Linked DNA regions of Homo sapiens: all the other regions are linked to region 2. Evidence: promoter capture Hi-C in human tissues and cell types (Jung and others, 2019). All regions are on one chromosome and are shown on one strand. Each heading gives the region's core, a stretch centred on a gene start or on the middle of the fragment in contact. The rest is flanking DNA. Distances are from core to core; before and after follow the strand shown. Region 1 holds the start of WDR45B (WD repeat domain 45B). Region 2 holds the start of TEX19 (testis expressed 19). Region 3 holds the start of ZNF750 (zinc finger protein 750). Region 4 overlaps TBCD (tubulin folding cofactor D). Region 5 holds the start of MIR4525 (microRNA 4525). Region 6 holds the start of RAB40B (RAB40B, member RAS oncogene family). Region 7 holds the start of FN3K (fructosamine 3 kinase).

The links. Contacts are between HindIII fragments. The study calls those that stand out against the background at their distance.
Region 1: the fragment with the promoter of WDR45B here is called in contact with the fragment with the promoter of TEX19 in region 2 in 4 of the 25 tissues and cell types used here (IMR-90 fibroblasts, dorsolateral prefrontal cortex, lymphoblastoid cells and 1 more).
Region 3: a contact is called between the fragment with the promoter of ZNF750 here and the fragment with the promoter of TEX19 in region 2, in 4 of the 25 tissues and cell types used here (adrenal gland, bladder, dorsolateral prefrontal cortex and 1 more).
Region 4: a fragment that was not itself captured here is called in contact with the fragment with the promoter of TEX19 in region 2 in 4 of the 25 tissues and cell types used here (dorsolateral prefrontal cortex, lymphoblastoid cells, mesenchymal stem cells and 1 more).
Region 5: a contact is called between a fragment that was not itself captured here and the fragment with the promoter of TEX19 in region 2, in 1 of the 25 tissues and cell types used here (lymphoblastoid cells).
Region 6: a contact is called between the fragment with the promoter of RAB40B here and the fragment with the promoter of TEX19 in region 2, in 2 of the 25 tissues and cell types used here (dorsolateral prefrontal cortex and spleen).
Region 7: the fragment with the promoter of FN3K here is called in contact with the fragment with the promoter of TEX19 in region 2 in 4 of the 25 tissues and cell types used here (IMR-90 fibroblasts, aorta, bladder and 1 more).

The regions. Positions count from the first base shown.
Region 1 is chr17:82,646,686-82,650,801 of GRCh38, forward strand. WDR45B (WD repeat domain 45B) reads right to left here and starts at 1,759. Exons shown (of 10, transcript NM_019613.4): 1 at 1,589-1,759. The coding sequence starts at 1,655. RefSeq lists silencers at 1,212-1,261, 1,272-1,321, 1,922-1,991 and enhancers at 1,404-1,903, 2,282-2,351. The HindIII fragment of the contact is 22,392 bases long and covers 1-4,116 here.
Region 2 is chr17:82,356,621-82,360,860 of GRCh38, forward strand. It overlaps TEX19 (testis expressed 19), which reads left to right and starts at 2,627. Exons shown (of 2, transcript NM_207459.4): 1 at 2,627-2,665. RefSeq lists an enhancer at 1-204 and a silencer at 3,813-4,107. The HindIII fragment of the contact is 14,968 bases long and covers 1-4,240 here.
Region 3 is chr17:82,838,097-82,842,122 of GRCh38, forward strand. ZNF750 (zinc finger protein 750) reads right to left here and starts at 1,926. Exons shown (of 3, transcript NM_024702.3): 1 at 1,831-1,926. The region is part of intron 13 of TBCD (tubulin folding cofactor D); the gene reads left to right. The HindIII fragment of the contact is 7,618 bases long and covers 1,324-4,026 here.
Region 4 is chr17:82,819,129-82,823,327 of GRCh38, forward strand. The region is part of intron 13 of TBCD (tubulin folding cofactor D); the gene reads left to right. Among named protein-coding and RNA genes, the nearest start is that of ZNF750, 19 kb to the right of the region's middle. The HindIII fragment of the contact is 3,186 bases long and covers 839-4,024 here.
Region 5 is chr17:82,667,500-82,671,208 of GRCh38, forward strand. All of the region lies in intron 1 of RAB40B (RAB40B, member RAS oncogene family), which reads right to left. MIR4525 (microRNA 4525) reads right to left here and starts at 808; the gene lies at 734-808. RefSeq lists an enhancer at 1,283-1,462. The HindIII fragment of the contact is 8,732 bases long and covers 1-3,709 here.
Region 6 is chr17:82,696,595-82,700,265 of GRCh38, forward strand. It overlaps RAB40B (RAB40B, member RAS oncogene family), which reads right to left and starts at 2,104. Exons shown (of 6, transcript NM_006822.3): 1 at 1,861-2,104. The coding sequence starts at 2,002. RefSeq lists silencers at 1,833-2,262, 2,283-2,672. The HindIII fragment of the contact is 28,650 bases long and covers 1-3,671 here.
Region 7 is chr17:82,734,247-82,738,166 of GRCh38, forward strand. FN3K (fructosamine 3 kinase) reads left to right here and starts at 1,369. Exons shown (of 6, transcript NM_022158.4): 1 at 1,369-1,531. The coding sequence starts at 1,391. RefSeq lists enhancers at 400-1,112, 1,825-2,537, 2,538-3,249. The HindIII fragment of the contact is 14,087 bases long and covers 1-3,920 here.

The DNA.
Region 1 (4,116 bases), core at 509-3,008, 290 kb after region 2:
CATCACCTGAACACTTATGATATATCCACCCTTCTACAGGTATAGCACACTTCACTAAAAAGAAGGCATTACAAACACCAGATGGTTGGAAACCACCCTCTGAGAAGGCTAGGCATCTCCCTTACCATCTCAGCAAAACTTTCTTCCGGAGAAACCCCAGCACACAACCCTGGGGAAGCTGGCAGCGCCCAGGAAGCCTGACTGGTCCCAGGGCATCAGGCATCAAAATCACTGAGAGGGAGTTCTTTCAAATATGTGTAATCCGGCCGGGCGCAGTGGCTCACGCCTGTAATCCCAGCACTTTGGGAGGCCGAGGCGGGTGGATCACCTGAGGTCAGATTGAGACCAGCCTGGCCAACATGGTGAAACCCCGTCTCTACTAAAAATACAAAAAGTAGCCGGGCGTGGAGGCAGGCGCCTGTAATCCCAGCTACTCAGGAGCCTGAGGCAGGAGAATGGCGTGAACCCGGGAGGAGGAGGTTGCAGTGAGTCGAGATCGCACCAGGCTGGGCGACAGAATGAGACTCCGTCTCAAAATGAAATAAATAAATAAATAAAATTGTCTTCACATATACGGGATCATACAGCACCTGCCTGGATTCTCTTCAAAAACAAAACTTCCAAAGCCAACATGTAAAGCCTCGCAGAAGCCTGTCTCGGAATAACGGACATTCCTTTTCCTCCCCATCAGGACCTTTGGGAAGCGCGCCCTTCAAATGGGAGGTGAGGAGGCAACCATCCGAATCCAGGTCCCGCCCGCCTCCCGCGGGAATCCGACCGCGCCGCCCCGGCCGCATCCCCCGCAGCTCCGAAGCACCTGCGGGGAAGGAGGTCACCTTCCCTGGGCGCTTTAAATCATCCAGTGCTTACACCTGGATTCCGACATGGGAAAAGAAGTAAGATTTCCCTCAAAGGCCTCCCTTAAGTCCTTTGACTCCACCAAACACGAAGAAAAATCCCGGGGAGTGGGGGTGGGGAGAGTGACATTTTCCGATGGAAACCGACGGGAAAGGTGAGACCTGCACCCCACCCGCGCCACTCGCCACCAGAGGCGTCGGAGACGCCGGCTCCGCGGCTCCAGTAAACCCAAGCGAAGTCAGCTCAGCCACGGGCTACCTACTAAAGACCCTGAAAGGAACAGGGGGCAAAACGGGGTTCTGGGCAGGGCGTCAATCACGCTGTGGGGAAAATCCCGATAACCGTGGAGCCCGCAGGGAGCCAGGGAACCCGAGTGGGCGTGGCGCGCGGGGAGGGGCGTCCGCGCAGGAGGCTGGGGTTCTGTGCCGTCTCCCACCGACCTCGACCTCGGCCCGGGACGGCCGGCTGGGAGCGGTCACAACCCGGGGGGTGGGGGAGCGCGAAAGGCCAGGAAGGTGGGAGCCGGTTCGGGCCTGGTCCGGACCCCGGCTCGGGCTGGGAGCAGCGGCGAGGGCCGGGGCCGGGGGCTTCGGAGGGGAGCTCGGGCGGGGCCGGGGTCCCGGGTGGAAGGCCTGGCCGGAAAGGGGCGCCCAGGAGAGGCCTGAGAGCCGGGGACCCCGGGCTGCGGGAAGGCCCGGCCGGGCAAGGCGACAGGGCCGCGCCTCCTCACCGTGGTCCTGGTTGAAGCCGGCGTAGAGCAGCCCGTTGCCGTGAGGGTTACACGGCAGGAGGTTCATGGCGCCGCCGTGCTGGGTCGCCGCTCCTCAGCGCTGCATGCCTCTCGCTGGGGACGGCGGCCTGGTCCCTTCGGGCCGGCGCTGAGGCCGCCGCGGCCGGAAGTGCCGGACGTACGTGCGTGCGTGCTGGATGTGCGTGTGTGCTGGACGTGCGTGCGTGCGTGCTGGACGTCCGTGCGCGCGCCCGCGCCCCACCAGGGAGCCTATGGAGCGCCGAGCGCATCTAACCGAAGCGAGGCGAGACGAGGCGAGGCAGGGCGGGGAGGGGCGGGGCGGGGCGAGGCGAGGCGAGGCGAGGAAAGGCGGGGAGAGGCAGGGCGGGCGGGGCGGGATGAGGCGGGGAGAGGCAGGGCGGGCGGGGCGGGATGAGGCGGGGAGAGGCGGAGCGAGGCGGGGCGGGGAGGAGGGGGCGGGGCGGGGCGGGGCGAGGCGAGGAAAGGCGGGGAGAGGCAGGGCGGGCGGGGCGGGGCGGAGGCGGGGAGGGGCGGAGCGAGGCGGGGCGGGGAGGAGGGGGAGGGGCGGGGCGGGGAGGGGCCAGGCGGGAGCGCAGAGCACGTTCGCGGGAGGGTCTGGCCTTGTCATGCGCGGGGTCGCCGCGGGAAGGAGGATGGCCCGTTGAGGGCTTGGCACGGATACCTGACGGTCGGAGGAAGGGGGGAGAGCCGGTAAAGGAGGCTGACCCAAAACTGAGGCCCGGTGCATCATCCCTCATGAGAGGCAAGCCCAGAAGCGCCACAATACTAGGGTCCCCCTTCAGGAGACAGAGACCCCCAGGACACAGAGGGCCCCCAAGTCACTCAGCCCCCCCAGGACACGCAGCTCCTGCAGGACGCAGAGGGTGCCCAAGACACACAGTCCCCAGGACAGAGACCCCCCAGGACACAGAGGACCCCCAAGACACGCAGTCTCCAGGACACAGAGGTCCCCCCAGGACACACAGTGCCCCCAGGACACAGAGGTCCCCCAGGACACAGCACTCCCAGGACACACAGCCCCCCCGGGACACAGAAACCCCCCCAGGACACAGCCCCCCTAAGACACACAGCCTCCCCCAGTACACAGAGTCCTTTCCAGGGCACATATTCCCCCAGAAGACACAGAGGTCCCCCTAAGACACACAGCCCCCCCAGGACACACAGACCGCCAGGTCACAGAGACCTTCCCAGGACACAGGGACCTTCCCAGGACACATAGCCCCCCAGAGGACACACAGCCCCCCCACGACACAGCCCATAGAGGACACAACCCCTTAGTACCCCACCTAAAGGACAGGTGGCCCTCACACAGCACAGCCCCCGCAGGACTCCGGGACCCTCAGGTCACATTGCTCACAGGGCACAGTTCTCAACTCTTAGGGTCAGGCTGCTGGGGGCATCCTGGTCACAGAGCTTTGTCCCTGGGCTTGGCTCATGCAGTGGATGGCTGTGGAGGCCTGAGTGCTGGCCCTCGTGTCTCTTGCCCAGGGAGTCCTCTCCACTCCCCCTCCTCACTTTCCTGTCCCCTCCTAGGCTCTCCCTGTTCCCTGCAGCACACCTGATCTCCTAGGAGGTCCTGACACTGTCCCCTCGCAGCCACCTGCCTCCACCCCGTCTGTCATCCTCATCCCACCCTCGCCACTTGCCTGAGCTGGTGCTGACCTCTTAGCCATGGGGAGGAAGGAGCTGGACTGTAAGCTGAGATCACTGGCCCACTCGGGCCAGGCGGTCTCCGCATCGTGGGCATTGAACACCTCGATTCCCATACGAGAGGGGCTCCTCCCTGAGAGCGACCAGAAGCCTTCCGATGGCGGAGCGAGTTGGGCCGCCCCGGCTGTGACTAGGGCTCGGGGGCCCAGGTCCAAATCACAGAGCTGGGGCGAGACCTAAGTGCGGTCCAGGGGCTCAGCACCCTCTTCCCTGAAGGGCACTGGGTTCTCCTCTGTGCACACGTACCGGTACCTGCTGTGAGAAGTGTCACGTGGGGGAAGGAGAGAGGCGTGGGTAAGGGACATTTCCCTTCATTTCTCTGCTTGCCACCCTTGGGGCCTCCTTCAGTTCACATTTTACTCAGTCTCCCGGTGGCTGTACAGCCGGGGGCGGGGGCATGTGTGGACATCCACACACAGCGCTGGTTGTATCCTAACCAGGAAACTCAAAGCAGCCTTGCCCACCACAGTGCGTTGAATGGTGACCCTCTAAAGATGTGTCCTGGGGGGCTGAGGAGGGAGGATGGCTTGAGCCCAGGAGATTGAGGCTGAGGCTGCACTGAACTGAGATTGTGCCACTACACTCCAGCCTGGGCAACACAGCAAGACTCTGTCGCAAAAAAAAAAAAAAAAAAAGATAGGTCCACCCAGAACCTGAGAATAGGGGCTTCTTTAGGTAAAGAATCATTGCAGAAGTAATTAAGGATCTCGAGATAAGATCATCCTGGATTTGGGGTGGGCCTTAAAGCTGGTGACCGGCACCCTTGGAGGAGACAG
Region 2 (4,240 bases), core at 1,377-3,876:
GTCTCTGCAGCTGGGGAAATGCCTGGTCCTTCTGGAGATACAGGAGTGTTGGATTCCCCGATTATGGCCACGTCCTGTTCCTCTGGTACCATCCACCCACCAAGTCTTGCCACGGTTTCCCTCTGGGCCTCAAATCCAGCTGTCCATCCCAACATCTGTCTCAAGTGGCCTCTCCTGTACCCAGCTGCCCAGGAAGCGATCCAAAGGCTCCGTCCCAGGCTGCTGAGGTGACTGAGGACCTTGAGAGGGTCCTACACTCTCAGACCAGGGTGAGGCCGAGGCCCGAGAGGCAAGTCCCTGCCCAGGCCCTGGCTGGCCAGGACGCGCTGGCCACAGCTTCCCAGAGTGGACGCTGCCCTGCACCCGCCAACACTTCCCCGTCAGCTTCCCGGTCCCACACCGCTCCTGCTGGCAACGAGGTCGCAGCATATTAAATTCTCGACGCAACTACTGTGTGAAAAAGCCATGCAAACCAGCGAGGAGCCTGCTTACCACAGGGGCCCTCAGAGGGCTCTGCTGCTCCTCGGTCAAAACCTCCTTTAGGCAGTGACTCTGGCAGCTGCCGGCTGGGCTGTGTCCTGAGAACTGAGGCTGGGAGGGGCCAGGTGGGAGGGACCTCATCCTCCAGGCGCCCACTGGCCCAGCCCTGAGTGTTCACGACAGGTGCAGGGCTCCCTCCCCGGCCCCCTTCTGGCCAGGGCAGCCACAGCTCAGCCCCGAGGCCTTGAGTGGCCTTTTCAGAGAAAACCAGGACCTGGGGGCTCCTCCCGGGAGCCTCTGACCCCCAGACCCATAAACAGGCTTCTCTGTGGGGTCCCTCAACCACTACTTTCCTCTCACCTGAGGGGACCAGCCAGACAGCTCAGGCACCCGAGTCTTTAGGGAATGAGCTCACTGCCCTCTCCACCCACAGCAGGACACCTGGCAGCCAAAGCCCCACACCTGCCCCTATCCCAGGACTGGGACGAGGAAGCCCCAGGGTGAGGGGTGGCCCTGATCTGAGCCCTAACCTGGTGGGGGTGGCAGGCAGCCCCAGGTGTGTGGATGACCTGAGCCAGGCACAGACAGCTGCCAGGTGGGGAGGAGCAGAGGTCATGGGGATGTAGGGAAAGGGTTTGGGGGTTCCTCCCACAGGGCCACTGTGTGAGACAATTTGTCACTTTCTTACAAAACTAAACACACTCTGACCACAGCATCCAGCAATCTCACTCCTTAGAGTTTACCAAAATGAGTTGAGAACTTATGTCTACAGACACCTGCACATGAATATTTGTAGTAGCTTTATTCATAATTGCCCAAACCTGGGAGCAACCAAGATGTCTTTCCATAGGTGAATGGATAAATAAACCATGGTACATCCAGACAATGGAATACCATTCAGTGTTAAAAAATAAGTGAGCTGGCCATGCAAGGTGGCTCACGTCTGTAATCCCAGCACTGTGGGAGGCAGAGGCAGGCGGATCACTTGAGCCCAAGTGTTTGATACCAGTGTGGGCAACATGGTGAGGCCCTGTCTCACAAAAAATACAAAACTTATCGGGGTGTGCACCAGCACCTGTAGTCCCAGCTATTTGGGAGGCTGAGGTGAGAAAATCACAGGAGCCCAGGAGGTTGAGGCTGTAGTAGCTGTGATTTCACCAGTGCATTCCAGCCTGGGTGACAGAGCAAGACTCTGTCTCAAAAAAAAAAAAAAAAAAAAAAAGAAGTGAACTATCAAACCACAAAAGACATGGAAGAACCAAAGTGCGTATTACTAAAAAAGAAGTTGAAAAGGCTACATAATGTATGAGTCCAGCTCTGTGACATTTTGGAAAAGGCAAAATTAAGGAGACAGTCAAAAGATTCCTGGTTGCCAGGGGCTGGGAGAGGGAGTGATGAAAATGCAGAACACAGATGAATCGGGGCGGAGAAACCCGTCTGTACAATATTAGAGTGGTGGGTCTGCATGATTATACATGTGTCCAAACCTGCAGAATGCACAGCACCGGAGGAAAGCATAATGGAAACTGCAGAGGGCGATGATGATAATAACAACGTGTAACAAATGGCTGGGACGGGAGGACTGGGGAAGGCTGTGCACCTGCAGGAGCAGGGGAGCGGTGGGAGAGCTCCATGCTTTTGGCTCAATTTTGCTATGAACCTAAAACTGCTGTAAAAAATAGAGTCTACTGAAAAAACAAGTGTTAATTTATAAGCGTCTTGTTTAAAGAGCGAAGAGATGAACCACAAAGGGGAAAATGTGTTTAAACAATAACTAATTGACAATTGGCTGGTTCTTAAAATTCAGAGAACTTTAAGACAGAGACAGCAAAGCAGGGATCACGTTTTACAAACGCGGCAGGACCAGGACGTCGTGCCCACGACGGGCCAGCAACCACAGGCTGGATGCTCACCCTGTGCCAGCCTGCAGACGGAGAGCACCCACCCCAATCTCCAGCCCCCAGAGGAGCTGCCTCTCCAGGGCCTTCCTGCAGGTGCCCAGGGGCTGCACATGGCCCTCCTTGGAGGGAGCTGGTGACTCAGCACTTTCATTTCCTGGAAACTGAGGCTCATGGGAGATATGCAGATGAGCCCAGAGCACCATGGGAAATGGCCCTTTATATACCCAAATGGGCTCTGCCTCCTCCTTTCCCTGGGTGCCCACATGAACAGAGACACCAGGATGGTGAGATCTCCCGAGGAGGGGTCTCTGAGGAGGGGTCTCGGAGACACGGCCTGGTGCTGGGTGAGGGGTTGGGAGGCTGAAGCGGGGCCAGGATTCCTCAGGTTCCCTCAGTTTCCCTCAAATTTCCCTCAGTTTCCCTCAGGTTCCCTAAGGTTCTCCAAGTTCCCTCAAATTTCCCTCAGTTTCCCTCAGGTTCCCTCAGTTTCCCTCAAGTTTCCCTCAGTTTCCCTCAGGTTCCCTCAGTTTCCCTCAGGTTCCCTCAGTTTCCCTCAAGTTTCCCTCAGTTTCCCTCAGGTTCCCTCAGTTTCCCTCAAGTTTCCCTCAGGTTCCCCCAGTTTCCCTCAAGTTTCCCTCAGCTTCCCTCAGGTTCCCCCAGTTTCCCTCAGGTTCCCTCAGTTTCCCTCAAGTTTCCCTCAGTTTCCCCCAGTTTCCCTCAAATTTCCCTCAGTTTCCCTCAGGTTCCCTCAGTTTCCCCCAGCTTCCCTCAGGTTCCCTCAGTTTCCCTCAAGTTCCCCTCAGTTTCCCCCAGTTTCCCTCAGGTTCCCCCAGTTTCCCTCAAGTTCCCCTCAGGTTCCCCCAGTTTCCCTCAAGTTTCCCTCGGGTTCCCCCAGTTTCCCTCAGGTTCCCCCAGTTTCCCTCAGTTTCCCTCAAGTTTCCCTCAGGTTCCCCCAGTTTCCCTCAGGTTCCCTCAGTTTCCCTCAAGTTTCCCTCAGGTTCCCCCAGTTTCCCTCAGGTTCCCTCAGGTTCCCCCAGTTTCCCCCAGGTTCCCCCAGTTTCCCCCAGTTTCCCTCAAGTTTCCCTCAGGTTCCCCCAGTTTCCCTCAGGTTCCCTCAGTTTCCCTCAAGTTTCCCTCAGGTTCCCCCAGTTTCCCTCAGGTTCCCTCAGTTTCCCTCAGGTTCCCCCAGTTTCCCCCAGGTTCCCCCAGTTTCCCCCAGTTTCCCTCAAGTTTCCCTCAGGTTCCCCCAGTTTCCCTCAGGTTCCCTCAGGTTCCCCCAGTTTCCCCCAGTTTCCCTCAGGTTCCCCCAGTTTCCCTCAGGTTCCCTCAGTTTCCCTCAGGTTCCCCCAGTTTCCCTCAGTTTCCCCCAGTTTCCCTCAAGTTTCCCTCAGGTTCCCCCAGTTTCCCTCAGGTTCCCTCAGTTTCCCTCAGGTTCCCCCAGTTTCCCTCAGGTTCCCTCAAGTTTCCCTCAGGTTCCCCCAGTTTCCCTCAGGTTCCCTCAGGTTCCCTCAGTTTCCCTCAGGTTCCCCCAGTTTCCCTCAGTTTCCCCCAGTTTCCCTCAAGTTTCCCTCAGGTTCCCCCAGTTTCCCTCAGGTTCCCCCAGTTTCCCTCAGGTTCCCTCAGTTTCCCTCAGGTTCCCCCAGTTTCCCTCAGGTTCCCTCGGGTTCCCTCAAGTTTCCCTCAGGTTCCCCCAGTTTCCCTCAGGTTCCCTCAGTTTCCCTCAAGTTTCCCTCAGGTTCCCCCAGTTTCCCTCAGGTTCCCCCAGTTTCCCTCAAGTTTCCCTCAGGTTCCCCCAGTTTCCCTCAGGTTCCCCCAGTTTCCCTCAGGTTCCCTCAGTTTCCCCCAGTTTCCCTCAGGTT
Region 3 (4,026 bases), core at 676-3,175, 480 kb after region 2:
CGTGCACTGGGCCGGGTGTTGGGGCGTAGCTGCCCACACAGACAGTGCTTTGAAGAGTGAGTGGTTTCGGTTGGCCATGGGGTTGTGTCTAAATTGCCAATATACTGTCTTTCCAAAGGTTCCTAAGTGTGGACAGTTAATGCAGCAGACAGTTGTTAGGGTAATAGTGAGAAGTTGGGATGCTTAACAAGCTTCTAAGGAGTTTGAACTTTGAAAAATAGACAAGAGAAAGAGTTCTTAAAAAAAAAAACTTTGATAGGACACAGCGGAAGTAATTACAGTTTAACTTTATGGGACGTTTCTGTGACAGGCTGGGTAACTATGCTTGTCATGCGTCCTAACCTGTGCCCTGAGATTGTGCTGTAATGTTCCTTTTGGTGGTGTCCAGCTGTCTGGCAAGGAGCCTGCTCGGCTGGAGCATTGTGAAGGGCATGCTGTAATTACAATATTGTGATGTGGCGTTGTTGCATAACTCAAGGACACACCATTGTCGCCTACCCACTGTGATGTCGCAAGAACGAGATTTGTGAGTTTTACTCCAATTGAGCTTTTCCAGTGATTGACTGCCACTCCCTCCCAGCCTTTCGGTTCTTTAAAATGAAAGATAAACCTCAGGACAACCAAGACCTGGGGAAAAGACAGTCTTTGGGAATGTAATTTGGAAGAATGGATCCAGAAAAACAACCAGGGGCTCTTAACTCTAGTTTCGGCAGGAGATCCCGAGTTACAGACCTGAGCTCGTAAACAAACGCTCACCACTTTACAGTCGCCGCCTCATCCTGAAACTCCGGTCAGAAATGCTGGAAGGCCTTTGCTAATGCGCAGTGAAAATTAGGGGCACAGATGTGGACGGACTGTGCTTGGTCAGTAATTGTTCTCCTCCAAATCAAGTTTATGAGAAATTTCATATAAGGAAAAAAACCCTTTTGTATCTGTGTCTATATGTACAGAAGACCTTAACAACCAAACAGAAACTTAACCCCTTTGGTTTGGTTTTGTTTTCGAAAGCTTATGCCCAATTTTAAACTTCATGTAAGCTTATGTACTTATTTTAAACTTTAAAACTATTAAAAGTTAAACTAGATAGTAAATTCGGCACTGTCTAATGTGCATACACCACAAACATATAACCCTAAATTCAGCTGTGTCTAATGTGTATACACCACACATATATATAACCCTAAATTCAGCCTGATGTACTTATACCACACATATATAACCCTAAATTCAGCCTAATGTACATATACCACACACACATATATATAACCCTAAATTCAGCCTAATGTACATACACCACACATATATATAACCCTAAATTCAGCCCTAATGTACATACACCACACATATATAACCCTAAATTCAGCCTAATGTACATACACCACACATATATATAACCCTAAATTCAGCCCTAATGTACATACACCACACATATAACCCTAAATTCACCCTAATGTACATACACCACACATATATATATGACCCTTACCTCTTGTTAGCATTTATTGTAGTTTGTTTTTGAGGTTAGGAGCAGTTAAGCAATAATATGAATTTGTGTTGGTTTAACTTTTATGAATTTTAGGGCAGAACAAGGAGTTAATTTCCAGATAAGCTTGTTCATGTTCTTAGAATAAAGTGTCAGCCTCATTAGAAGTTTTGTAATCGTGGTCTGCATCCCAGCCATGCACCTGCTGGGTCCTGAGTAATCCTCGGAGCCCAGAGCAAGGCAGAGCAGACACGGAGCAAACGCTGCGTTCAGCTGGGTATTTTAGATACGTCTGAGAAGAGTTTTAAAATAAAACTTGAATTTGAAAAGAAATAGTGAGTACTTACCAGAGGTGGGCAGTGCTGGGATGTGGCCGGTCTTGGTGCCGGTGGCTGGCGGTGCTCAGGAAGCAGTACCTGTTCTCACGCTTGCTGGGTGAAACTGGAGCCTGCTGTTCCAGTGGGAGGGATTTAAGTGTAGGAGTTGAGCCCTCGGGGCGTAGAGATGCACCTGATATTCCTCCTGCCCGCAGCTACGATTCATGTGTTTGCACCCACCGAGCTGCTGCGGGCAGCCTCCCCAGCACTGGACCCAGCAAGCAAGTTATCTCGCCGACTCCCAGCGCTGTCTCCAGACTCAACTGTCTGTGAGTGCGGCGTCGGTGCTGCCTGGACGGCCATATGTCAGAGGGCTTTCGATGTGTCCGCAGTTAGAATAGAGATTACTATATTCATCAGAATCACACCCGATGAATATTTGGCGTCATGATAAAGACATGTGAGACTTTCCTTTAGAACTTGAGCATGTGTACGCAGGAGGCAAACACTTGGATTGATTCTCAAGCGCGCATACCCTGGGAGGCACAGTATTCATGGCGTCCTTGCCATGAGGTCCAGTGAGGCCTTTGAGGATCTGTGGACCTTCCACCCTCTACCCTGCTCCTGAGAGTCTCTGTCCCTGGTCCTCCTCAGGAGCTGAGCCGGCAGGGAGGGAGCTTATCCCAGAGCCTGGCTGCAGGGACCTGCCGGAGCTTGCCCGACACCAGGCACCGCAAGAGCTGCGGAGCAGGGTGTGTGGGTGCGGGGGAGGGGGCCAGCTGTGCACTCCCGCAAACCACCCTCCCCCCACTTTAAATTGCAGAGGCACTTAACTTGGGGGCCAGTTTTTACCTCCACACCCCCCCACCAAAACTGCTTGCTTGCTTAATCGGAGGCCGCACCCCAGTTGTAGCGAAGGCTGGCATGTGGTGTCGGTTTGAGGACTGGGAAAGGAGGTGGGATGAGCTGGTGTCAGGCCCTTGGATGAGCCTGAGGCTGCAGGGCAGAGGCTGCAGGGCTGTGGCATAGGGACGAGCTGGCCAGGACAGACAAACTGGTTTTTTTTTTTTTTTTTTTTTTTTTTTTTGAGACAGAGTTTCACTGTTGCTGCCCAGGCTGGAGTGCAATGGCATGATCTTGGCTCACTGCGTTTCTCCTGCCTCAGCCTCCCGAGTAGCTGGGACTACAGGCGCCTGCCACCACGCCCGGCTAATTTTTTGTATTTTTAGTAGAGATGGGGTTTCACCGTGTTAGCCAGGATGGTCTTGATCTCCTGACCTTGTGATCCACCCACGTCGGCCTCCCAAAGTGCTTGGATTACAGGTGTGAGCCACTGCACCCGGTCTGTTTTTTTGTTTTTGTTATTTTTTTCCTTAAGACTTAAGATTTTACATGGCTTTGCGTTTACTTTTATATTTAATTCCTTTTTTTTTTCTTTTGAGACAGGGTCTTGCCCTGTCACCCAAGCTGGAGTGCAGTGGTGCGATCACGGTTCACTGTAGCCTCAACCTCCTGGACTCGAGTGATCCTCCCGCCTCAGTCTCCCCAGTAGCTGGGACTACAGGCACGGTCACTATGCCTGGAGAATTTTTTGTAGAGACAGGGTTTTGCCATGTTTCCTAGGATGGTTTAATACCTTAAAATTTTTTTTGGTGGCTTTTGTCCATTGAGACATCCATATACTTTATGAAGTCAAAAAGAGTTATGTAAGTCTTATGACAAAAAACAGCAGTTCCCTGTCCCTCTTACCTATTCCTGGATAGCAAACTATCCCAAACTTAGTGGCTTAAAACAAGCACCGTTTTATTACGTCTTAGGATATATTGTGTCAGGAGTTTGTGGAGGGCCTGGCCGAGTGCTGCTTCTGTTTCATGGACACTGACTGAGGTGGCTCCGTGGGAGAAAGCTGGCAGGTGACTGGTCTGGAGGGTCCAGGACAGCTTTACTCACCTGCCTTCTGTCCTGGAGGGGCAGCTGGAATCCTGAGATCAGCTGGAACCTCATCCTCACTTAGTAGCACTTCAGAGGCCTCCCTAGCAGGGTGGTCAGCTGTATGATGGCTCAGGACTTCAAGAGAGCAAGGCGGAAGGTTCCAGTCCTCCAGAAGGCTGGGCCGCAGATTGTCAGGGTGTCCCTTCTGTCACCTTTCTCTGCTGAGGCAGCCTCGTGCTGCCCAGATGCAAGGCGGGAGCCGAGGGCTCCACCTCTCAGCGGCAGGAGTGCCAG
Region 4 (4,199 bases), core at 1,182-3,681, 460 kb after region 2:
AGCATGTTTGATGACTAAAGCTTTTGTTTGTCTTAGAGGAAATGTGGAGCTTCATTGGTGCATGCTAAAGGAGGAAGAAGTAAAACTAGGGAAGTCAGGTGGGCAGGCAGTGATGCGATGTTTGCCTGGAAGGCACCCTGGGTCTTTCTGCCCTTAGTCCTCTGAATAGGGGGACTCTGCCTGCTGGACTCAGGAAAAAAGCATCGCATTTTCTTTGGGTTACTTTTTAGGGAATCCTGCTGATTCCTCTCCACACATACAGTGCACACACACACAGAATCTCCATCTGTTGTGCTGTAAGCCTATTTCTTGGTCTCTGACTCTGTGCACACCACCACGCCCAGCTAATTTTTTAAAGAAATTCGAAAGTAGCCTGCGCAACAAAATGAGATCCTGTTTCTACAAAAATTGTTTTAAAAAGGTAGTTGGGTGCAGTCCCAGCTACTCAGGAGGTTGAGGTGGGAGAATTGCTTGAGTCCAGGAGGTTGAGGCTGCAGTGAGCCATGATCGCAGTGCTGCACTCACGCGATCCTCCTGCCTCGGCCTGTGGACAGTGGGCCATGTTCTTTTTCTCTTTGCATCATCACCTCTGTTTGAGGACTACTGTTAAAGGGCTACTTGGTCTTTATTTTAGGTGATTCAAATTCCAGGACTTTTCTTGAGTGGTCCTGGCGTAGGTCCTTTCACCTTTTTTGTGGCTCCTCTTTGAACACCTCTGTTGTTGTGGCAGGAGGAGGTGGGCACTCCTCACCATGAGTAAGCTCCTACAATGTTTGTGAACCCTTACGGTTTCCTTTGTTGGATACAAGAAGCACAGGTGGGGGGATGTATTGGTTTAAGTTTACCTTTTTTTTTTTTTTCTTTTTTTGAGACAGAGTCTTGCTCTGTTGCCCAGGCTGGAGTGCAGTGGCGCCCTCTTGGCTCACTGCCAGCTCCATCTCCCAGGTTCAAGTGATTCTCATGACTCAGCCTCCCGAGTAGCTGGGAGTCAGGCGCCCGCCACCATGCCCAGCCAATTTTTTTATTTTTAGTAGAGACCAGATTTCTCCATGTTGGCCAGGCTGGTCTCGAACTCCTGACCTCAAGTGATCTGCCTGCCTTGGCTTCCCAAAGTGCTGGGATTACAGGCGTGAGGCACTGCGCCCAGCCAACTGTACTATTTTGATAAAATGTATACATGTGCTCCTTATTATGCATTTTGTGGTTTTCATCAGTATTTTGCTTTTTGAAAAATGTCAAGTGTTCTGATCTCTTTGGACATTTTGTATGAACCCTATTTCCCTTGCTATCCTTATTGATTGAGAATTGTGCATATTGATTTGGGTAATAATAACTAGCACTTGGTGTTTTTCTGAGCTTGGATGTGTAGATTCATGTCTTTCATCAAACTCGGGTAGTTTTCAGTCATTGTTTCTTCAGGTATTTTTGCTGCCCCTCTCCTCTCCTTGTGGGACTCTTGTTATGTTAATACACATGTTGGTACTCTTGGTGGTACCCTATGAGTCTCTTAGGTTTTGCACTCATTTCAGCTCTTGAGTCTTCTTGTTATGTTAATACACATGTTGGTACGCTTGATGGTGCCCTATGAGTTTCTTAGGTTCTGCCCTCATTTCAGCTCTTGAGTCCTCTTGTTATGTTAATACACATGTTGGTAAGCTTGATGGTGCCCTATGAGTCTCTTAGGTTCTGTGCTCATTTCAGCTGTTGAGTCCTCTTGTTGTGTTAATATACATGTTGGTAAGCTTGATGGTGCCCTATGAGTCTCTTAGGTTCTGCACTCATTTCAGCTGTTGAGTCCTCAGTTCCAGAATTTCTCTTTAGTTTCTCTTTTAATAATTTCTTTTTGAGACAGGGTCTTGCTCTGTCGCCCAGGCTGGAGTGCAGTGGTGGTATCACGGCTTACTGCAGCCTCAACCTCCCAGGCCCAAGCAGCTCTCCCGCCTCAGCCTCCTGAGTAGCTGAGACCACAGGCCTGCTGCACTGGAAAAAAAAATTGTAGAAACAGGATCTCACTTTATTGTCCAGACTGCTTTCAAATTCTTGGACTCAAGTGATCTTCCTGCCTTGGCCTGCCTTGGGATTATAGGAGTGAGCTGCTGTGCCCAGCCTGTTTTTATAATTTCTGTCTCTTTATCAACATTCCATGTTAGTTTAAATGTTGTTCTTTTGGTCTCCTTTAGTTCTTTGTCCACAGTTTTCTTGAGATCTGTGAGCATATTTTTGTCTAAGACTGAGCACAGTGGCTCACACTTGCTTCCCAGCACTTAACCTTTGCTTTAAAGCCTAAAAAGGAAGAAATCTTTGCATATGTGTTTCCCAAATAACAGATTTGAGGGCTGTGTTGGTGACATAGGTCTGTTTATACCCACTGTGTGGCTAAAGCAGGTCTCTGTTAAATTAGCATCTACAAAGCTTTTCTCCTGCCTTCCCTCAAACTTAGGAAGCTCCCTATGCAATCTTCAGGCTGGGGTCCTTCACTGCCCCCTCTCAAGGAGGCCTACCCCTTCCCCCAGAAGGTGCAGTCTGTCACCCCATGTCTTATAAAGTGTAATGGTCTGGTGTCCCAAAGCCACAGAGAAGCCCATTCTAACCTTCCTGCAACTTTCTGAAGGTTGGAGAGCATGTTTGTTTTACTGCTAGGAGGCTCAAGGTCCCTGTGAACCTGCATCAGGTAGTAAGCCCTGCATGTCGGAAATACAGACTGCCTAACTCTTATCTAAGGTGATGTTTTGAGAAAATTTTTAAATGTATAATACATTTTATAAATTTCGAAAAAATTTTAATAAACATTAAATTTTTATAAGTTTATATAAATGTTATAAATTTTGAAAAATGTACAGAGTTGCATTGGAGCACACGCTCTCAGTGTTCATCGAAGACGTACAAGCAGCGTCTTACGACGATGTTGCTGCAGCTGCCTTGGGGTCTTGTTAAAAGCACCATTCAGTAGATTAATTCCCACCTGTGGACTGTGTTTTCTGGCTTCCAAAAGAAACTGTCATGTTTTTCTCTCTGGATGACGAAAACTCTGCACGTACTTCCTATGACAAGTGCGATTGGCGCCCACTGCTCTTGGCAGTTGAGGTGAGGACACAGCGTTTCTGTGACGGTGAAGGGGACAGGGTTTGGAGGGAGATTCAGACATTAAACAAGGAAACGAAGGGAGCAATTTCAGAGAATGGATAAAGTCGTTAAGAAAATACAAAAGGGCGGTGAGATCCTCAGTGATGGGGCCAACCAGTGACTTGAATAAGACTTGGGGAAGACCTCCTGGGGCGACATTTACGCTGAGAGCTTCTACCGTGAAGGAGCCGAGCAGGATGGACTCCTGACCGCAGCATCTCAAAGAGGAACGAAGGCTCGCACGAGCTGGGACAGCGGAAAGAGCAGAAGAGTGGGCACAGAAAAGCGCCTGGGGGCCAGATCCTAGAGGGGCTTCAGGAACACAGTGAGGGGTTTGGAAATTATTCAACATAAAGTCAGATACTGGGGAATACACGGGGGTGCAGTGGAAAGGAAGAGCGAGGGAGAGTGAGGCCATTCGGGAGCCACCACAGTGTTCGGAGTGAGACCAGAGCTGTGAAGAAAGAGAAAAGGAAATACGCTGCATGTAGGATTCTGAACTCAACGACTTTGCTGTTCTATTCAGTGAAAGAGAGTGAGATAGTAAGGTCAGTGAGTGACATGTTGGAGCCTTCCACATAGTAATGGTCTACAAAGTTATGGATTGATGAGTTCACACAGGAGGGAGTGAGAGATGAGGAAGGTGAATGGGTGGAAAAGCTTGAACCGGGTTCCCAGGCTCACTGGCATGGGGAGGTGGAGAAAAGGGGAGGAAGCAGCCGACATGGAAACCCGCAGAGGCTCCTTCAGAAGGGATATTTTATAGGAGAGGAGTCCGATTCTGAGAGGGGGAAGGGGTGGAGGACCAGAGTTTCCTCACAGGCTCTGGAGCACTGAGGTGGATGGTAAATTCCAGGAGAGCAGCTCCAGCTGAGGTCTAGGGACAGGGCATTCCCTCCCTGGTAGAGCCGTTGGGGCTCAGTGCCGAGGCTGGCTCAGGCTCTTGTGGGGGGCCCTGCTGTCTGTCCAGCCCTGGCTGTGGCCTGGCCTGACCCTGCTGCCCCCTGCAGGCCTGTGTACCTCAGTTCCCAGGTGATCAAGGGGCCCTGGGAGAGGTTGGGTCTGAGCACGTCCTG
Region 5 (3,709 bases), core at 242-2,741, 310 kb after region 2:
TGTCCCCTGCCCTCTGCTTCCTCCTCCGGGCCCTGCCCCCTTCCTGGACTCCAGAGGCTCTTTCTGTGGTGCCACCAGAGCCCCAGAGACATGGAGTCCAGGCTTCCCGCATCCTCCTCTGTCTCCTGCTAAACTCCACACTCTGTCCACAGAGACTGCCCATCACGCCACCAGGTAGATTAGACCAAGCAACACCAGAGCAAACTCCCCCCGTCAGAGGAGAGTGATTCAGAGGACAAAAGATACAGCAGCACTGAGAACGCCCGAAGCACCCGCTTTGCAGACGCCACCTGCCCCGTGATGAGGCTCAGACAGAGCGGCCAAGCAGTCCCCTGACCCACCCAGTACGAGGCTTTCCTGAGCTGGCCAAACGTTTGCCACCGAGCCCAGCAGGCACGCTGAGTGCACCGTCTGTCTCTCTCTTCTTGGCATGGGCGCTGACGGGGCACTGATGGGGCCTTTGGGATGTTGCTCTTCCGGCTGGAAACCTCTGTGGCTGCTGAATTATTGTCCTGCATCCAGGAAGAATGAGGTACCCAGACAAGTGGAGGGTGAGCGAGACGAGGAGGAGCTTTACTGAGTGTTAGAACAGCTCAGGGGAGACCCACAGTGGGTGGCTTCTCTCTGCAGGCAGGTCGTCCTGACAAGTGTTCAGCTCTCAGCAGACAGGGTAGCTCTCCGCAGCTGGTCATCCCGACGTCCGCGTTGCTCTGAGTCTGGGGTTTTTGTGGTCTTCAGGGTGGGGAAGTGCACGCTGATTGGTCCACAGGCAGCCCACCCCAACCAGCATGCACATCCCCCCTCTGACAAAAGCACCGAGTCCTCCTTCCAGTCTGCAGGACTGGCAGCCCGGGCCCCAGGCCCCCTTGAAGCTTCAAGGTGTGGCTTCACCAGGGACCTGCCCCCTTCCACCCAGAAGTCTGTCTGCCTCCCACTGCTGTTCATGGCACCCAGCTTGTTCATGCCAAGGGGCGCCTGCAGGCCAGCACTGAGCCACCCTCAGCCCTCCCTCAGCTTCCCTCCCATGTTCAACAGCGCCCAGTCCCGAGGGGGCTGAGGTGGCAAGGGCTGGTGTGTCCGTGCTGCCCCAAGTGTGGACCCACCCGGATGGTCTGCAGCAGCACCTGGGCTCAGCCCCAACTGTGCTCCACGACTGGAGCGGGCGTGGGGAGTGAGGAGAGGCCAGGCATTTGGAGCAGGCACTTCTAAGCCTGCAGGGGGCAGGGGTGGCCTTCCCAGGCCTCCAAGAGCACAGAGACGCCCGCGTCTAGAGCTGCCCCAGGGCAGCGGGCCGCGGCACGCAGGGAAGGCGGAGCTGCTGCCTGATCCGTGGATCGAGAGGCCCAGCCATGCCTCCGCTGCAGCCGGCATCTTGGCAGCAGCCACTCTAGATGGGCCACTGCTACCATCAGCATCTTAGCACCAGGAGCTTGACCTCACCACAGTGGGGCACGCGGCGTAGCCTCCATTGCTGTCAGACCAAAACCACACTGCTGTGGTTTTCCCAGGTGACCAAGTGAGTATCAAGGAAACAGTCCTTTTACAGAAAGGAAAATAGCCAGGCACGGTGGCTCACGCCTGTAATCCCAGTTCTTTGGGAGGTTAAGGTGAGAGGATCGCTTGAGCCCAGGAATTCGAAACCAGCCTGGGCAACATGGTGAGACCTCATCTCTACAAAAAATTTAAAAATTAGGGCCTGGGCGCGGTGGCTCACGCCTGTAATCCCAGCACTTTGGGAGGCCGAGCGGGGTGGATCACCTGAGGTCAGGAGTTCGAGAGCAGCCTGACCAACATGGAGAAACCTTGTCTCTGCTAAAAATACGAAATTAGCCGGGCGTGGTGGCGGGTGCCTGTAATCCCAGCTACTCAGGAGGCTGAGGCAGGAGAATTGCTTGAACCTGGGAGGTGGAGGTTGTGGTGAGCCGAGATCACACCATTTCACTCCAGCCTGGGCAACAAGAGCGAAACTCTGTCTCAAAAAAATAAAAATAAAAAATAAAAAAATTGGCCAATCATGGTGGTGCACACCTGTCGTCCCAGCTTCTCAGGAGGCTGAGGTGGAAGGATCTCTTGAACCCGGGAGTTGGAGACTGCAGTCAACTATGATCGTGCCACTGCACTCCAGCCTGGGTGACAGAGTGAGACTCTGTCTCTAAAAAAAAATGTAAAAGGAGACAAAAACACTTTTCTGGAGCCTTCCAACTAGATAGTTCTACTAGCCCCAGCGCGGGAGCTTCAGGCCCTGTGAAATTACGCTTTGAGCGACGACCAAAAATCTCTTCACAGTCCTTTAAAACCCTACTAAGCTCTCGGGAAGGCACCATCATGTGCCAAGTCCTGCAGCCGTCAGCAATGAACACACTGAGCGTGAAACACAAACAATAAATTAAAAAAGAACATACATATTTGCTCCATAATAGCAATCCTCAAAGAGAATTTTGGAAATATTTATTTTCCCTTGGCAGGCACGAGGCAATGAACGAATACACTTGGGAATCTATTTTCGAATGCGGAGATAACTCCAGCTTTGATATGTCTGTCTCCAGACGAAGGGACACTCACCCCCACGGGCTGAGAGGCTCATATTTGTCTTTCCGGAGATTAATCCACTGCCTGAGCTTGGCTGGGTCCTCTGACTTAGAAAGTATCCTCTTGACCTGTCCTTGAGGGCCAACAATCTTTTTTTTTTTTTTTTTTTTTTTTTGAGACAGAGTCTCGCTCTCTCACCCAGCCTGGAGTGCAGTGACGTGATCTCGCTCACTGCAACCTCCGCCCACCGGGTTCAAGCAATTCTCGTGCCTCAGCGTCCCGTGTAGCTGGAATTACAGGCACACGCCAGCAAGCCAAGCTAATTTGTGTACTTTTAGTAGACACGGGGTTTTACCATGTTATCCAGGTTGGTTGCGAACTCCTGACCTCAGGTAATCCACCTGCCTTGGCCTCCCAAAGTGCTAGGATTATAGGCATGAGCCACCACGCCCAGCCAAGGGCCAAACAACTTTAAAATGTGTTCATAAATGTAAAAGAATTCCTGATTTTTTTTTTTTTTTTTTGAGACGGAGTCTTACTCTGTCGCCCAGGCTGGAGTGCAGTGGCGCGATCTCAGCTCATTGTAACCTCCGCCTCCCGGGTTCAAGGGATTCTCCTGTCTCAGCCTCCTGAGTAGCTGGGATTATAGGCGCCCACCACCACGCCCGGCTCATTTTTGTATTTTTAGTAGAGACTGGGTTTTACCATATTGGCCAGGCTGGTCTCCAACTCCTGACCTTGTAATCTGCACGCCTTGGCCTCCCAAAATGCTGGGATTACAGGTGTGAGGTACCGCGCCCGGCTTCCTGATGGTCTTTTTAAGCGCCCTACGAGTTTCAAAACCATCTTTCGTTTCTGTTTTCATGGAGTCATGGATGCTCACAGTCTGAAGTGCTGTCACGATCCACGATGTTGGACCCTGGCCCACCCGAACCCCTGTCTCCCTTCCCCATTTTAATCCTTTAAAATAACTTCTTTTGCTATGCATCTCCAGATTGATGAAGAACATACTTACATTCCTACTTCCTGACATTTCAGTTTTAGGCATCCACTGACTTTCCACTACAGAAGATGAAAATGTAGCTCTCGGTCACTGACACACCCCACCCCTGTAACTCCAACACACACAGTCACACACATCCTGTACTCACTGACACACCCCACCCCCGTAACTCTAACA
Region 6 (3,671 bases), core at 854-3,353, 340 kb after region 2:
CAGGCGCTCAATCTCCAGCCCTGTCCTCCAGGCGCTCAATCTCCAGCCCTGTCCTCCAGGCGCTCAATCTCCAGCCCTGTCCTCCAGGCGCTCAATCTCCAGCCCTGTCCTCCAGGCGCTCAATCTCCAGCCCTGTCCTCCAGGCGCTCAATCTCCAGCCCTGTCCTCCAGGCGCTCAATCTCCAGCCCTGTCCTCCAGGCGCTCAATCTCCAGGGCAGCGCTGGCCCTCGGACTTTGCCACAGCGACATCCGAACTATCTAGAAATGTGACGAATGGAAGCTTTTTGTTTTCTTTCCTTCTAATTACACTTCCACAGCCACACGTGGCTCATGGCATCCTACTGGACACCACGGTCCTAGAGACCTGCCACCGAGCGGGGAGGGGGGTAGGACATGCGGGGGCAGCGGCGCCTGGGGACAGGTAGAGACGCAGGCTCCCCTCCTGCCCCACGGAGCACACTCTGCACCCACCAGCTGCCAGAGACTCCCCCGCATGCTGCAGTTTCAGGAGGCCTCTGGGTGCTGGTCGTGAGCCCAAGCCCATCTCAGCTGCTCCCCCAAACTCTGCCCATTCCTCACCCCGTCCCCTAAGCTGAGGTGTGGCCGGGCACCTGAGTCCCACCCCACGCTCCACAGTCTCAGGCCACCCCCTCCAGCCGTGCCACACTCCCTTGGTGCTCACGCCGCCTGCCTGGAGCTGCCCTTAGGGGACAGCCTGCACCCTCTACCGAGCAGCCTCAGATCCCGCTTCCTCCCACCCTCTCCCGCTAAGTTCGTCTCTGGCAGGACCCTGGACCTGGGGCTTCCCAGACCCTTCCCAGGCCCCAGAGCTGACAGGTCCTTCCCACCAAGACTCCATCTCCACGCCCGGCTGCCCTCCTCCGCCCAGGACTCAGAGCGGGTCTCTGTTGGAAGCGTGGGTTCAGCCCCGAGGCGCGGCAGGAAGGTGGGCACAGGCTGGGCTCCTTCCACAGCCTCAGGGTCGGCCTCGTCCAAGCTGTTCCAGGGATGCGCGTGGGTGAAGGCCCCGCCTGCTCCTCACTCCCAGCCGAGGTGTTCGCCTCTGCGCGTTCCCCCTTCTCCTGGGTTCCTGCCCCCGCCTTTCTTTCCCCGGAGCCGTCCACCCCCTCGCCGGGCGCCGGCTTTCAAGCCTCAAACTTGGGGGATCCCCGGGCTGCCTGCCTGGGAGCTCTGGGCGCTCCGGCCTCCCCTCGCCCTGGAACCCGCTCTCCGGCCGCTGTCGTGGGGGGTCCCCTCTTCCGCACGCGAGTCACCTGTGCTCCTTCCTCTCCCCCGGACACGCGGGACCCCTGGCCTCGGGACCGGACCCTGGTCTCCCCTCCCCTCCGACCCACGCGCAGACCCAGCACCTGGGCGCCTGCTCGCCGCGCTCCGCCCCAGGAGCCCCGGAGCTCGCGTCCCCTCCCGCCCCTCCTGCCCCGCGGCCGAACGCGCACTTGCGGACTCGAGCCCCCGCCCCGGGTCCCCACAGCAGCGGCCCCAGGTCGGGAGGAGCCCAGCGCCCGGCCCAGCCGCGGGCTCCCGCTGCGCGCAGACTGCGGAGAAGGATGGAGACTGCGCCGCGGGGCCTCGAGTGGAACTGGGGGTGCAACAGGGACGCCGCAGCACGAGGGCCAGGGCCGGGCGGAGAAAGGCCCGCCCGCGAACCGCGCTCCTCCTCAGCCCCGCGCCCCCGGACCGGGACTCCTACCCTCCCCGGCCACGCGCCCCGGCCTCTTCCCGACCCCTGCCCGGTCTCGCGTCCCCGGACCCGGACCCCCACCCGCACCCCCTCCCCAGCCCCGCGCCCCTCCCCGGCCCCGCGCCCGCACCCCGGCACGCCCTCCGCCCGCGCTCACCCGCCGGGTGGCCGTACGGGGACTCGGCCGCGCCATCCTGCAGGCTCGCCAGGATCTCGCCCTTGCCCACGTCGCTGTCGCCCACCAGCAGGAACTTGAGCAGAAAGTCGTAGGCCCGGACCGGGCTGCCCAGGGCGCTCATCGTGACGGCCCGGCGCCCCCACCCATGCCCGGCCTGCGGGGCTGAGCGCAGAGGCGGCGGCCCGGCCCCGAGAGGCGCCGCGCGGGCCCCGAGTCCTTGCTCGCCTCCGGCCCCGCCCCGCCGCCCAGCGCTGACAGCGCGCATCCCCGCCCGGCCCCGCCATTGGTGGACCGCAGTTGCTAGGGCAGCTGCGCGCTTTCACTGGCTTGGTTGTCCGTCCATCTTACTCTCGTCACCGCCTCCGGGCTGTCGCCCACCCGCCCCTCCTGAAAGGTCGCTGTCACCACAGCCAATGGAGGCCCGGAGACGGGGCAGGGGCGGAGCCAGAACAAGCAGGAGGCGGGGACTCTGCTCCCGCAGCCAATGGCGGGGCGGGGTGGGGGCGATCAGGGGGTGGGGCCGGGTGTTTACACTCTCGCGTGCGCCCGTGAGCGCCACGAACTCGCTCCCACGGTCGTCGGGTCTGCACGCCCCGAGTCGGGAGGGGCGAGGGGCGGTGCAGGGTCCCAGCGTGGGGCCTCCCCACCTGCCCACCAGGGAGACCTCGGGTGCCTGGCCGGGTGGGGCTCGGGGTCGGTCCAGTTGGCGGACGCGGCCGGAAGGCCCCCGCAGGCCGCCTCGCCGGAGGAGTCCCTGTCGCCGTAGAATCCAGGCTCGCGGTCTCTCCCCACGGTTCATCCAGGGCCTCGTCGTTGCCCCATTTACGCGGCGTGCCTGAATGCCTGTGTGTGCACATGCGCCTGTGTACGTGTGCATGTGTTCGTGTGTGTGCATGTCTGCGTGTGCATGTGTGCCTCTGCAGATATCTGCACATGTATGTGTCTGCGTGTGCATGTGTCCCTCTGCAGGTGTCTGCACATCTATGTGTCTGCGTGTGCATGTGTCCCTCTGCAGGTGTCTGCACATGTATGTGCGTGTGCATGTGTCCCTCTGCAGATGTCTGCACATCTGTGTGTCTGCGTGTGCATGTGTGCCTCTGCAGGTGTCTGCACATGTATGTGCGTGTGCATGTGTGCCTTTGCAGGCATCTTTGCATGTGTGTGTCTGCGTGTGCTGCTTCTATGCATGCGCTCCTATGTGTGCGTGCGCTTGTTTGTGCATCCATGCATGTGTTTGCGTGCGTGCTGGAGGAGAGCATTGGGTGGGACCCTCCAGCCTTTTGGCTTCTCCTCTGCTCTAGAGAGCAAGGGTTGCCAGGCCGAGGTCTGCCCTTCGCTCTGAGGGTCTCACCAGGTGCACATTGGTTTATTTGGTGCAGAATTCAGGCAGCAGGCAAAGGGCGAGCTCCGTCCAAGAAGAAGGATAATGCCCCCACTACTTCATCCCCTCCACCCTGCGTTGTGTAGGGAACTGCTCTAGACCCCATTAGAAGTTTTTTGTGGGGGAGGAACAGAAGAGGGAGCGGAAGAAGAATTACAAAAGAGACTGAAGTCAAGATTATTATATTTGTCATTTGCATTCATTTGGACCTAGAAAATGTTTACTTTGGAATGCCAATTTAGTTTGCAACACCTGTTATTCATTGGTTGATTAGTTGCTTTAGTTACTAATGCAGCCACATTTTTTTTTTTTTGAGACAGAGTCTTGCTCTGTTGCCCAGGCTGGAGTGCAGTGATGTAATCTTGGCTCACTGCAACTTCCACCTCCTGGATTCAAGCCTCCCAAGTAG
Region 7 (3,920 bases), core at 119-2,618, 380 kb after region 2:
CAGAAAAGGCCTTTGCTTCTGCCAGCTCTCTGGGAGCTCTGGCTCTCCCAGTGCTCACTCTTGGAACCTGGCCTCCATGTTCAGGGAAGCTCAGGCCACACCAGGAGGCCACATGGACATGTCCTGCTTGACAGTGACCGCTAAGCCCAGGTTCCAGTGATCCTGGCCGAGGTGCCAGATGTAGGAGTTAAGGAGCCTCCCGATGACCCCAGCCCAGCTGAGCAAGTGGGCAGGACCGCGGGGATAGGCAGCTCCCAAAGGCTCCCTCCCCGCGGCAGGACCCCTGCATCTCTGTGGGAAAAGACAATTGTTGGGGCCCTAAAAAAAACAGATTTATTGATTAAAACCTCATGCATGGCCGGGCGTGGTGGTTCACGGCTGTAATCCCAGCACTTTGGGAGGCTGAGGCACGCAGGTCACCTGGCCAACATGGGGAAACCCCATGTCTACTAAAACTACAAAATGTAGCTGGGCAGGCCGGGCCGGTGGCTTGACGCCTGTAATCCCAGCACTTTGGGAGGCCGAGCGGGTGGATCACGAGGTTAGGAGATTGAGACCATCCTGGCTCACAGGGTGAAACCCTGTCTCCACTAAAACATACAAAAATATTAGCCGGGCGTGGTGGCGGGCGCCTGTAGTCCCAGCTACTCGGGAGGCTGAGGCAGGAGAATGGCTTGAACCCGGGAGGCGGAGCTTGCAGTGAGCCGAGATCGCGCCACTGCACTGCAGCCTGGGAGACAGAGACTCCATCTCTTAAAAACACAAAAAACAAACAATAAAAAAACCTCACGTCAAATGACTTCAGCACGGACTGGGCTCAGGTGCGCACCTGCTCGTGTGCACGCGTGTGTACCCACGTGTATGCATGCATGGGCGCGCGTGGGCATTCCTGTGTCTCAAGTCCCTTTCCCAGGACATCCTGGAATCAGCAGCCCCACCCTGGGCCGGGTCAGCGCGTGCCATCGGAGCCCCCACGTCAGCCTCTCTCTCCGATCGGCACCTGGCGTCCCAGTGCGCAAGCCCCACGTCATCACGGGGGCCGCTGGGCCCGGCCTGGTCTGCAGTGTGGGAAGCCGGCCAGGCCTGTGACCAGCGCCCGGGCCGAGGGCCGGACCTGCGTCCGCTGCGGGGCAGGGATACCGGGTCCCTGCAGGGAGCTCAAGCCCCAGCGCGCCCGCGAAGAGCTGCGCGGACTCCCGGCTGCTTCCCCCGAATCCCGGGCGCAGGAAGCGCGAAGCCGGACGAACGCGGGGAGCGCGCGGCGAGCCCGCCTGAGGCCGCCCCTCCCGCCGCCCGGGGTCACGCGCCGCGCGCTCCCGCCCCGCCCCGCCCCGCAGCGCCTCAGCCGACAGGGGCTTCCGAGCGAGCAGAGTCCCGCGCCCCGCACTCCATGGAGCAGCTGCTGCGCGCCGAGCTGCGCACCGCGACCCTGCGGGCCTTCGGCGGCCCCGGCGCCGGCTGCATCAGCGAGGGCCGAGCCTACGACACGGACGCAGGCCCAGTGTTCGTCAAAGTCAACCGCAGGACGCAGGTGCTGGCCCGTGCGCAGGCGGGGGCTCTGCGGGTCTCTGCGGGGCCTGGGAAGGCGGAGGGGTCGGGGGCAGGCGCATTTCCTGGGGCTGGGCCTGGGGAGGGGTCAGCTTTGGCCCTTGGGAGGTGGCACCTGCTGGGTGAGCCCGGCTCAAGCGTTCTGTGAAGGTTTGTGTCTGCACGATCCGTGACCTTCCTTTGGCCTCCATGCGCAGCGCACAGGCTTCTAGGGGTGGTTTTAACTTTCCTATCCAGCAAGCGTCGGGGGATGTGAGGCTTGGGGTCCTTGGCTCAGCTCTGGGCCGCCCCTCTCAGCCCACCGTCCTCCTGGCAGTGGGAAAGAAGCAGAGACATGGCTGGGCCCCTGGCAGGGACCCCACGGGCCAGGCCAGCGTTCTCCTTCCCACAGGCCTTGTCTGTGTTTAGACCTGATTTCTATCTCCTGCTGAAAATAGTTCTGTTTAAGAATGTATGGAAGGCCGGGCGCGGTGGTTCACACCTGTAATCCCATCACTTTGGGAGGCCGAGGTGAGTGGATCCCTGAGGTCAGGAGTTCGAGACCATCCTGGCCAACATGGTGAAACCCCGTCTCTACCAAAAAATGCAATAATTAGCCGGATGTGGTGCCACTGGCCTGTAATCCCAGCTACTCGGGAGGCTGAGGCAGGAGAATTGCTTGAACCCAGGAGATGGAGGTTGCAGTGAGCCAAGATCGCGCCATTGCACTCCAGCCTGGGCAACAAGAGGGAAACTCCGTCTCAAAAAAAAAAAAGTATGGAAAATGTTAACGGAGGAAGTGGAGAAGGTTAGCTTCAGCCTTGAGAGCCGGCAGGTGGAGAAAGGCAGGCCTGGGTGCCCTCCCGGCCCGAGTGGGCTCAGAAGGCCCTGCACACTCTGGTGGGGGAGCTCTCTGAGGGGCAGCAGGGGTCCTGGTGGGGAGTGCTGGCAGGAGGAACACCAGAGCCATGCAGCCTGGGCGTGCGATCGGATCCTCCGGCATCACCTGCTCTGCCGGCTCAGAACCAAATCCCTCAAAGTGGGGAGTCCTACTCACAGGGAAGCAGTTTTTGGTTCAGGCTTCCCACGGGCTCTGGGAAACTTCCTCAGCTGGTCCTGAAAGCTCTGCAGGGTGAGACCCCTCCTTCCCTCCCACCCCCACGAGGGGCCGGCACATAGTAGCTGCTCAGTCCATGCATAAGAGCAGGTGATGCTGGGGCCCCTGGGGCTTAGCAGCCCCAAGGCCGGGAGTTCCTGGCCTGGTGCATGGGGGGCTCGCCCTGGAGCAGGGCTGGGGTGTGCCGGCCGCCCTCCCACCTGTGGACACTCACACCCACCCTCGGTGCAGGCTGGCCAGGGCTGCCAGGCTGGGGAGGCTGTGCCTGGGCTTTCCCTGGGGTACTTTGAAGGAAAGGGCGTTCTGTTCGTGTGCACCAGCAGATGCTTTGGTCTCATTCATGAGGTTTGATTTTTTTAAACATGCAGTCCTACACTTTGGGCGACTGAGGAAAGGTGGATCACTTGAGGCCAGGAGTTTGAGACCAGCCTGGCCATCATGGTGAAATTCCATCTCTTTTTTTTTGAGACGGACTCTTGCTCTGTCGCCCAGGCTGGATCTCGGCTCACTGCAAGCTGCGCCTCCCGGTTCACTCCATTCTCCTGCCTCAGCCTCCCGAGTAGCTGGGACTACAGGTGCCCGCCACCTTGCCTGGCTAATTTTTTGTATTTTTAGTAGAGACGAGGTTTCACCGTGTTAGCCAGGATGGTCTCAATCTCCTGACCTTGTGATCCGCCCACCCCGGCCTCCCAAAGTGCTGGGATTACAGGTGCGAGCCACCACGCACGGCGGTGGAACTCCATCTCTAGTAAAAATACAGAAAAACACAGCGGGGTGGGGTGGCCCACACCTGTAATCCCAGCTACTCAGGAGGCCGAAGCAGGAGAATCGTTTGAACCCAGGAGGCGGAGGCTGCCGTGAGCCGAGATCATGCCACTGCCCTCCAGCCTGGGTGACAGAGTGAGACCCTGTCTCAAAACAAACATGCAATTCTATAGGCCAAGGTATTCATGGACCACGTTCGTCAATGCATGTTTTCAACCAATGTGTACTGTACGTGAGGTGAGTGTTCACCTAACTGAAAACTGGAATGTTTGTGGGAATATTTCAGAAACAGGAAGGCCCAGGTCCCACGGGAGGCGTTGGGGGCCGGCCGGGTGTGCCGTGCCTTTTACCTTCCCAGCCCCTGCCCTGGACCTGAGGCCCCGCCTGATGGGCCCAGCCCTCTTCTTCCCTGCCTGACGTGTGTGCCCAAGTTAGCTCCAGTGAGGCCTCTGCTGTGGCTGCCCCACCCTAAGAGGCAGCAAGGAAGGTGGGTAGCCCGGGGGTCCAGCTC